Regions from separate parts of the Homo sapiens genome. Here region 1 is linked to region 2. The links are contacts of gene promoters, found by promoter capture Hi-C in human tissues and cell types (Jung and others, 2019). All regions are on one chromosome and are shown on one strand. The core of a region is centred on a gene start or on the middle of the fragment in contact, and the rest is flanking DNA. Distances in the headings are between cores, read along the strand shown. Region 1 overlaps LINC00539 (long intergenic non-protein coding RNA 539). Region 2 holds the start of XPO4 (exportin 4).

Region 1 (4,792 bases), core at 522-3,021, 400 kb after region 2:
GTCAGTTATATGCAAGTACTACACCATTTTATATCAGAGACTTGAGCATCTGTGGATTTGGGTATCTGTAGGAAGATCTAACCATTGCCCACTGATACTGAGGGGTGACTGTTGGCATGGCTGTCACAAATCCCAGAATTCACTGTGTATTTGTTGTCTTAGTCTTCATCTTAATCAGTATTCTAGGATTTTTTTCTACATTTTTGCTTGTGGTCTTCACTAAAATATTTTAACTTTTCTGCCCTGTATCTTATCTTATTTTGACATTTTTAATATTATGTATAATATCTCATTTTGAAAACTTAAAAAAAAAAAAAAACTATGTGATTTATATATGTAGTTCTCCGGGTAAAAAAGAACCTTTCTCCTTTTTGAATTTTTGAGATGTTACCTACCAGTAATGTTGGTACTATTATAAGGCAATCGTCTTATAAACTTTTTCACTAAATAGTCATTTTGTTTTCTTTGTTTTCAACACAGTTTTTACGTAACAGAACTGTTTTCCTCATCACTATTAGAAATCAGTTGTTAATGTGCATGCTAGTGTTTTGAATTTTAATATTGATTATAAATTCACATGTAGATTAGTAATTTGTAAAAAAAAAAATGTAAATTTATGTAACTCATTTTTCAGATACTTTGGTACTAATGTTATTTTATCGTTACCAATTCTTACAACAAATATACCAAACTATGGATTTAAATGTTTTGGCATTAAAAACTATTTGATAATAAAATCAGGAAATTTTACCTTGTGGTGATTTTATTTCATGTTATAGTCACACATCTTCTTGGCAAATAAAATATGTAGTGTTTTGTAGTTTCTCTGCTTTTTGTTACAATTGACATGAAAACGAAAATTTAGTTTTACATCATTTTATCTTTTTAAAAAAATTGTTGCTCATTTTAATTTCTAATGACTTAAGTAGCAGCAGCAGTAGTAGTTGTACACAGTATTACATGGAGACTGAACTCATATTTTATTAAAAGGACTAAAGAGACTGTGCCTTTGTTTTCTGCACAAAGACTAGAATGTAGTTAAAGACTAAAGTGTAGTTAAATGAGTTTTGAAACTATACTATGTGTCAGTTAAAGAAAACAAGCCTCTAAGAGTTGTTTTTTGGAGCTAGGTTAACCTGTGAGAACCATACTGCAAAGAATTTTAGCCAGAAAGTTGTAGAATATTTGAAACCAGTGTCTGCTCTTTTGATTTAATAAAGGGTTAGGAAGAATTTGCTTGGTGTTTATATTTGAAGGAGAAAAACTTTTCTGAAACAAAGTTAATAAAATTATTTTTTTTGGAAAGAAACAAACTTGGTTTCAAGGAATAACAGAATTAAATAAATGTTCAGAAAGCAGCTGCTTTGCTTTACTCGCTTAGGAAAAAGTCAGTAATGGAAATGCATAGGCCAAGCCAATGGCACATCTTAAAACCCAGTTTTCATTTTCACCCCCAGATCCTGGAAGAAAGCTTCCCATCAAATTCCCTTTTGGTTTCGTCTTTCCCCTTTATTAGGCTGATTTTGTGAAAATCGCTCACCCTGAGCCAGCATTCAGGGAAGTCGCAGAAGAAGCTTGTAGAAGTATTGGCACCATGGTAGAGAAGTATGTGCTGTTCCCCTCCCCACCTCCGTGCCAAGTCCTGGGTGATCCGGTTTCATGGACTTGTGCCGTAGGCAGTTTTGTCCATAGTGCTTGTCCCCCGCCCAGCAGGGTGGGAGGTGTGTGTGACCAGGGGTGGCCGGAGGGAGGTCTCAGGACAGGCCATTGGCTCACCTTGCAGGCAGGCACTGGGCCTCAGGGCTGGTTGTCTGTTCTCTCAGTCATTTCCTTCTCTGTAAATGGGGTCATAAAGTTAACCCTGCCTCAGGGTCCTTGTGAGTGTTAAATGAGATCAATGTAAAGGTGTCACTTGATAATCTGAGATGACAGACACCCAGGATTCTTGTCATCACCATTATCACTTACCTTAAATAAGGGCTTTTTAGTGTCCTAGTGGCAAGTTGGACTTACTAGATTATCGCTTGATTAAATTGCTGTTGCATCAATGGCTGTGGGCCACGGGGCGAGAAGCCAAAACGCTCTATAAACAGTGTCCTTGTGGTCCCTGTTGAGTTGGAATTAGGGGAGTCTAGGGAGGCTGTGAAAGTCTGTGGGAGAGCTGGAGCAGGCTCTGGCTGAGGCTGTGATGGAGTGAATTATTTTAAAGTGATTTTGGGGTAAATGTGAGTGTTTTTAAGCCACTTATAAGAGCTCCATAGTGCTTGTTAAAATAACTGAATGGTGGACAGCGCTGTATTCCAACACACTTAGCTGCATGGCACCATGCCAGGCAGTGTATAGAGCTAGGGAGAGCCCTGGGCTCGCCAGCGTGGATTTACAACAGGGAAAAGGGGGTAACACGATAAGACAATTTCATATGCCAGAAATTGTTGGAGGAGGAGAGTGATGGCTTCTCTGGTTAGACGAGGCTTCCTTGGAAGACCCAACGCTTCAGGATGTGCAGCTGCTGCTTTTCCCCAGGTCGCCAACATTTGTTCACTTTGGCACAATCGTGTGTGACTTTCCCCATAGCCGCTGAAAACCAACTTGCGTAATGGGACAGAACGGGGCCCTGCAGAGTGCAGACACTGGGCATGCTGACAGGGCTGAAAGTGGGGACTCCCTGGGAGAAAGCTTTGCCTCTCGGGGAAAGGCCCCTGGGAAGGAGTCAGCAGTGGGCTGCCTGCTCGAGGCTCTCTGCATGCTGTGTCCTGCCGAATTAGACGTGGGCTGGTCTCATGGACAAGCACTCTTCATTTTGTGGGAGGACAAATACAGACTGAAGTATGGGCTTTATCTCAGGGTCTTCCAACATAAAACATACTACTGGGAGATTTCCTTAAACCTCTGCAGTGGGGGCAGTGCGGGCAGCCTCTGAGCTACTGTTCCTTTGCCATGGAGTGGCTCCGTGGGTGAGCAGGTTGGGAGGAGGTAGGCCTCCACACTCACTCTCTCCCTGACTTCTGGGATCCATGTGTGGGAGTCTGGCCCTTCTTGGTGAGTGTTTTTTGATGGGTAATGACTATCTACGTTTCACTAGCATTCGGGAAGGCCCATGTGAATGGTAACAGAAACCCTTCGATTGATGTAAATCTTCAGTGTTTTTATCTTGAACCAACTGAGGAACAGGAGTATCCTTGAGTCTCTGAGTAGGAACTGGTGGGTGGTTCTTACAAGAAAGAGATGAATCTGAACTATAAGGAAGCTTATAATAGAGTTATTTTCTATTACTTTTTCCTCATCTAGTTTTCTTTTGACATTTTAGACCATTAGGACATCTTGACCAAGCTCTAGGGGAAAGGGGTAGAGAGGAAAAAGAAAAGAGTAAAGCCTCTTGGTACAGACTATGTTTGAAGTTTCGTTCCTCAAACGTGTGAACTTGTGCACGCAATACAGCAAGGGAGACACGGGAATGATAAAGAAGGATAAGACGTGAAAGATACAGTCTAACTGCTAATATTGTTTCGTGTATGTACCTTTTAATAAGAGTAAAGCTTCCCAGCTAAATTGGGTTGGGGCTCTCGGTGGAATTTCCGATATCAGCTAGTACAAGAGAAAGTGGAGCCAGGGGTGGGTGGGCTGGGAATGGCATTCAGCCAGGCTGGGGACTTGCTGGAAAGGCAAATTCTCAGGCTGTATTCCAGGAGTACTCGGGACTGGTCCCAGTGCTGTTTTAACCAACGCTCCAGGTGATTCTGAGCACTCGCTAGTTGGAGAACCACTGGGTTAGGGAGCTAAGGTCTCTCAACGCTGCTTGAGAAGGGCTGCCACAACCGCCAGTGAAGGAGATGGGTTGAGTGATTGCCCAGGGGCACTGGGCTGGTACCAGGAAGGGTGTGGATTTGAGGCCAAGCCTTCCAATTCTAAGTCCAGGGACTTTTATACTCTGCCAAATAATACTAGAAACAAACAAAATCTCCTGTCTCACCCAACCTTTTAAATTTAACATGTGAATTAACTTAGCTCCATAAAAACAATAAACTACACTTGGGTCTTTAATATAGAAAACAGAACAAACTGTTTAACACCCTGAGAAGATTCAGCTTCCTCACTTGGGCTAATATTGTTAATTTAGTTTTGTTGGGGGAATTAGCCACCTCTTGCTTTGATGGGTTCTATTCTTTCTACCCTGCCCTGCCCAGCATGAGGAATAATCTCTAGTCCCGCAGTGGTGTAGAGCTCTGTCTATTCTGGGATGAGACTGGACTTTCTTGTCTTTTGTTCAGGCAGGAGCAATGGCATTGAAAAGTTGAAAGACAAATAAAGTCAGCAGGAGATAGACTTTTGAGATTCTAGCTTTTGAAGCTAAACAGATTGATCTAAGGAATTCAGTCTTTTTCTGATTCTTTGTATTGTTAACATCATCTTTGCCTGCATGTGAGTGACTTCTGGCCACCGAGGGGCTGCACTTCAGCCTGTGGCCATGTGGGAGGCATTTTCTTCCTTTTGGCTGAAGCTTTGGGTAGGATGGGAGTTAGGGAAGGTGGGGAATGGGTGGCACAACCCTCTGCCTGTAGCATTTAACCCACACAGTGGGCTTGGTGACATCCTAGCGATTTGATGTATTCCACCCCTAGAATCCAACCTTTCCTGTCATTACGGCCAGACATTATACACTCAGGGCATAAATATGCTGCACATAGAAGCTATAGGGAAGCAATTGATACTGGGGAGATCCATTCTGTAATAATTGTGACTTGACCAGTTAGAAATATTACCCAGGGGCAAGCATTCTTAGAAATGTTTGACC
Region 2 (4,371 bases), core at 1,751-4,250:
ATAATTATGAAATACATCACTATTTGCATTTTGAATCTCAAAGCATATTAACAGTTAAAATACAGCAATTTTCCATAAGATATATTCAGACCCACAGATGGATAAATGCTAAGATCACTCTGTTTAAAATATGTAGCTTAATGCTTAATAATTGACGGAGCATTAACAACCTTAATTAGCCAAAGATGAATTAATTTACCTCCTTTCTGGTCCCAGTATCCTACAGCTTAAGAACCACAGACTGGTAACAGACAAACCAGAGTTTGAGTCTCTACCCCTTGCTATGTAAATTTGTGTAGATTACTTAGCATCTACATGTTGGAGTTTCCTTAGCCTGTAAAATGAAAACGAAAGTAACACGCCAGGTGCAGTGGCTCACGCCTGTAATCCAAGCACTTTGGGAGGCCGAGGCAGGTGGATCACGAGGTCAGGAGTTCGAGACCAGCCTGGCCAACATGGTGAAACCCTGTCTCTATTAAAAATACAAAATTAGCTGGGTGTGGTGGTACATACCTGTAGTCCCAGCTACTCGGGAGGCTGAGGCAGGAGAATCGCTTGAACCCGGGAGGCGGAGGTGGCAGTGAGCCAAGATCGTGCCACTGCACTCCAGCCTGGGCAACAGAGTGAGACTTGGTCAAAAAAAAAAGAAGATGAAAGTAATAATACCTACCTCACAGAGTTACTGGAGATAAAAAGTAATATATGTAAAGGGCTTGGCACAGCGCCTCCAACATAGTATGTACTCAATAAATGGTAGCTATTAATAATTTGGAATATAGCTTTCATATTAAGAAATAATACAATAACTACTCTACACATCTTTGGTACAAATTTCTGAATACTTAAGTGGAAATTTCCAAAAAGTCATTTCCTTTTTTTTTTTTTGAGATGAAGTCTCACTCTGTCGCCCAGACTGGAGTGCAGCAGCACGATCTCGGCTCACTCCAACCTCTGCCTCCTGGTTCAAGCGATTCTCCTGTCTTCGCCTCCAGAGTAGCTGAGATTAAAGGTGCCAGCCATCACGCCCGGCTAATTTTTATATTTTTAGTAGAGATGGGGCTTCACCGTGTTGGCCAGCCTGGTCTTGGGCTCCTAATCTTTAGTGATCCGCCCACCTCGGCCTCCCAAAGTGCTGGGATTACAGGAATGAGCCACCGCACCCGGCTGTAATTTCCTGTTTTTAATAACATGACACTTTTTTCAATACTACTCTCCTCTGAAAAGATAAAAAGCATTTAGACAAATTATTTATACAACATATGACAGATGGGGTAGAGTGGAAAGACACACAGCTTTAGAGCCAGACAGAACTGAGTTCAAGACCTAATTCAGCCATTTAGTAATCGTGTAACCCGGGCCACTTACAGTTTCTCAACCTTGTAAAGCAAAGCTGTTGCAAGAATTAATAAAATATGTAAAGTATGTAAAGCATCAAGCCCAATATCTAGCACTCAATAAACGGTACTTACTACTATTCTTCTCACCTACTCCTTATAGGGGATAAAAGCAGCTTTGCCAGGGAAGAGGGAAGATATTGGAAAACACAAATACTAGTTTATATTAAGCCAGTGACGAAGGACACTGATTTTACCTGATCAGTGTAAGAACTACAGCCGTGTTTTGGGTGGCATACTCCTTCCAGAATCCAATGAAAACGGAGCCCCTAGCTCCTAGGAAAATTTCAGGAATTTTACAAAACGCTCTATGTCAGGGATTTTTAAGAATCTTTTATTAAGGGGAATACTAGCTAGTTACTTCTGCTTAATTTGCAAAAGTGTGAAAACCTTCACTAGTCTGTTTTGTGACAAAACGTACATTAAGTTAATATTCATAATGAAGCAAGTAAATCCTGCTTTTATTAGACTTCTCGATTTCTAAAGAAACAAAAATATCTGGTGTAAAATATTAGAACTACAAACTACGCTAGAATTAGTTCGAATATTCTCAAATGTGATGCTCAAACACCCTAACACCAAACCAAAAGGAAAAAAGTCCAAAAAGGTAACAAAGCTGGCTGTATCCAATTCTTAGAAAGTCTGAATCAATCCAGGTATCAAATGAACCTCTAACTTCCCAAAACATCTACAAACACCGAAGTCATAATTTGCAAAAACAAAGCTGAGCCAGCAAATAGAAACACTGTTTACTAACTGAACGTAGTTTATCCTTACTTCTCCTCCTTGCATGTAATACTTTTATCCTTTGACTCGGCCTTCTCAAATTCCCTTAGTAAACAATCTCATCAAACTGCTTATTGTAGTGTAAGCATGAAGTCAAAGAGTAGCATAGACTCAGTTCTCCAAATCGCGGGAGCTTTAAGGAGCTTAGCACTAGACCAAGTTTTGCCCCAATGACCTTGGTCTCAACGATTCCCCTCCCTCCCTCCAGCCGGCCCGGCCCTTCCACGTGCTGCCGGCTGCAATTACTCCAGAGGTGGCTGCATGTCAGGGAAGCGCTAGAGGATGCGAATGCACAGGAAACAAGGGTTGCTAACAGCACCCAGGCTGTGCCATCCAATCCCTCCCGACACCAACTCCCCAAGAGCGCTCACACAGCCCTACAAATTTCCCCTACCGAAGCCCTGCGGGGATAACCCCAACTCCTTCCCGGCGCCTTGCTCTGCGACCCAGTCTGTGGGGCAGGGTGTAAGGTGAAGAAATTCTCTTTGCTACACCACTATATTCCCACGCCCGACTGGGGTGCTGGGCAGCCAGGGGAAGGGGACAGCTCCTGGAAGGAGGGGACGACGGCAGGAGGAAAGTAGGCTGAAGAATCCTGCGCCACGCCACCGCCACCTCCTCCTCCACTTCCAGGCTCCCTGCAGGCCCTTGCCAGTCGCCAGCCCAGCGAGCAGCAAGGCCTGGAGTGGCAGGGCCGACCGGGGGCCCGCGAATCCCGGGGTCTGAGGGGCGCGGCGTCCTCACCATCAGAACTTTAGCCGCGTTCTCCAGCTGAGCGATCACTTCTGGGGGCCCCAGCGCCGCCGCCATCATGGTCTCTCTTCAATGACGCGCCATGCGCTGCATTCTGGGAGCGGGCGCCGCGGCCGGCCAATCGCCGCCGCGACCCCGGAGCCTCACGCGCTCCCAGGGCCGTCGCAGCCGCTGTCGACACCGGCGTCGCGGCCTCGGCGGGTCTGGCCGGGCTGCCGGGTTCCGGGTGGCTGGGAGGGGACTAGTGTGAGCCCGGCCGCCGCGCTGGGGCGGGGGCGGCCGCAGCCGGCACCGGGCGAGGCCGAGGCGGTCTGCCCAGACTGCTGCAGCCGCGCGCCCCGCTAAGCTCCCAGCCCCGCGCATGCGTGGTGTCCGGCGCCCCGGCCTCGCGGTGCCCCCGGCCCTCTCCCCACTACCCTAGTACAGCCCGCCCGGGGACCCGCAGATCCACGACGCCAGTTCGCTCCCTCCGTTCTCAGCCCTGCACACCGCCTCCCCTGGCTCCTCCTTGCCCTTCCACGCTCCAGCGCCGTGCAGGATTTCCTAAACTTGGAATCGCTCTTCCCGCTTTCCCCTCCTCAGAGCGCACCTCCTTTCAAAGTATCTCTGTCTCCTGCTTCTCTGTTCCTTCTTGCCATGGGAGAACATTCCAGGATAGAACGCTTCGTTTTCTTTCTTTCTTTTTTTTTTTTTTTGGAGACAGGGTCTCACTCTATCGCCCAGGATGGAGTGCAATGGCCCTATTTCGGCTCACTGCAACCTCCGTCTCCCGGGTTCAAGCGATTCCCCTGCCTCAGCCTCCTGAGTATCTGGGATTACAGGCGCCCGCCACCACGCCCGGCTAATTTTTGTACTTTTAGTAGAGACGAAGTTTCACCATGTTGGCCAGGCTGGTCTCGAACTCCTGACCTCAGGTGATCCGCCCGCCTCGGTCTCCCAAAGTTCTGGGATTACAGGCGTGAGCCACCGCCCCCGGCCGAACGCTTCGTTTTCATAATGGAGGGCTTTGGCCTTCTGCAGGACAATCATCCAAATGTATCTGGGCAGCGGGTCGCTAGGAGACCCTAGGAGGAAAACCCGTCTTTGGCTCTTGCCGTTTTCACTCTTTAAGGGCTGGCTCACATAGGAGAGGGAGAAAGCAGGGACAGGAAAGCCTGACCTTGACTACCTGGCTTCTCAAATGCAGTAAGATGAGCTTTGTCGGCCAGGCGCTGTGGCTCATGCCTGTAATCCCAGCACTTTGGGAGGCCAAGGCAGGCCTCATTTTAGCTCAGGAGTTCGAGACCAGCCTGGGCAACATCGTGAGACCCTGTCTCTACCAAAAAAAAAAAAAAAAAAAGCCCGGTGTGGTGTCTTGCGCCTGTGGTCCGAGCTTCTCGGGAGGCTGAAGCGGAAGGATTGCCCAGGAGGTCGAGAGTGCAGTGGGGCGAGATCACAC

The links. Contacts are between HindIII fragments. The study calls those that stand out against the background at their distance.
Region 1: a fragment that was not itself captured here is called in contact with the fragment with the promoter of XPO4 in region 2 in 1 of the 25 tissues and cell types used here (aorta).

The regions. Positions count from the first base shown.
Region 1 is chr13:21,304,769-21,309,560 of GRCh38, forward strand. All of the region lies in intron 2 of LINC00539 (long intergenic non-protein coding RNA 539), which reads right to left. It also overlaps the pseudogene MIPEPP3. Among named protein-coding and RNA genes, the nearest start is that of LINC00539, 38 kb to the right of the region's middle. The HindIII fragment of the contact is 3,239 bases long and covers 153-3,391 here.
Region 2 is chr13:20,899,746-20,904,116 of GRCh38, forward strand. It overlaps XPO4 (exportin 4), which reads right to left and starts at 3,001. Exons shown (of 23, transcript NM_022459.5): 1 at 2,925-3,001. The coding sequence starts at 2,993. RefSeq lists an enhancer at 2,764-2,813 and a silencer at 3,024-3,403. The HindIII fragment of the contact is 40,685 bases long and covers 1-4,371 here.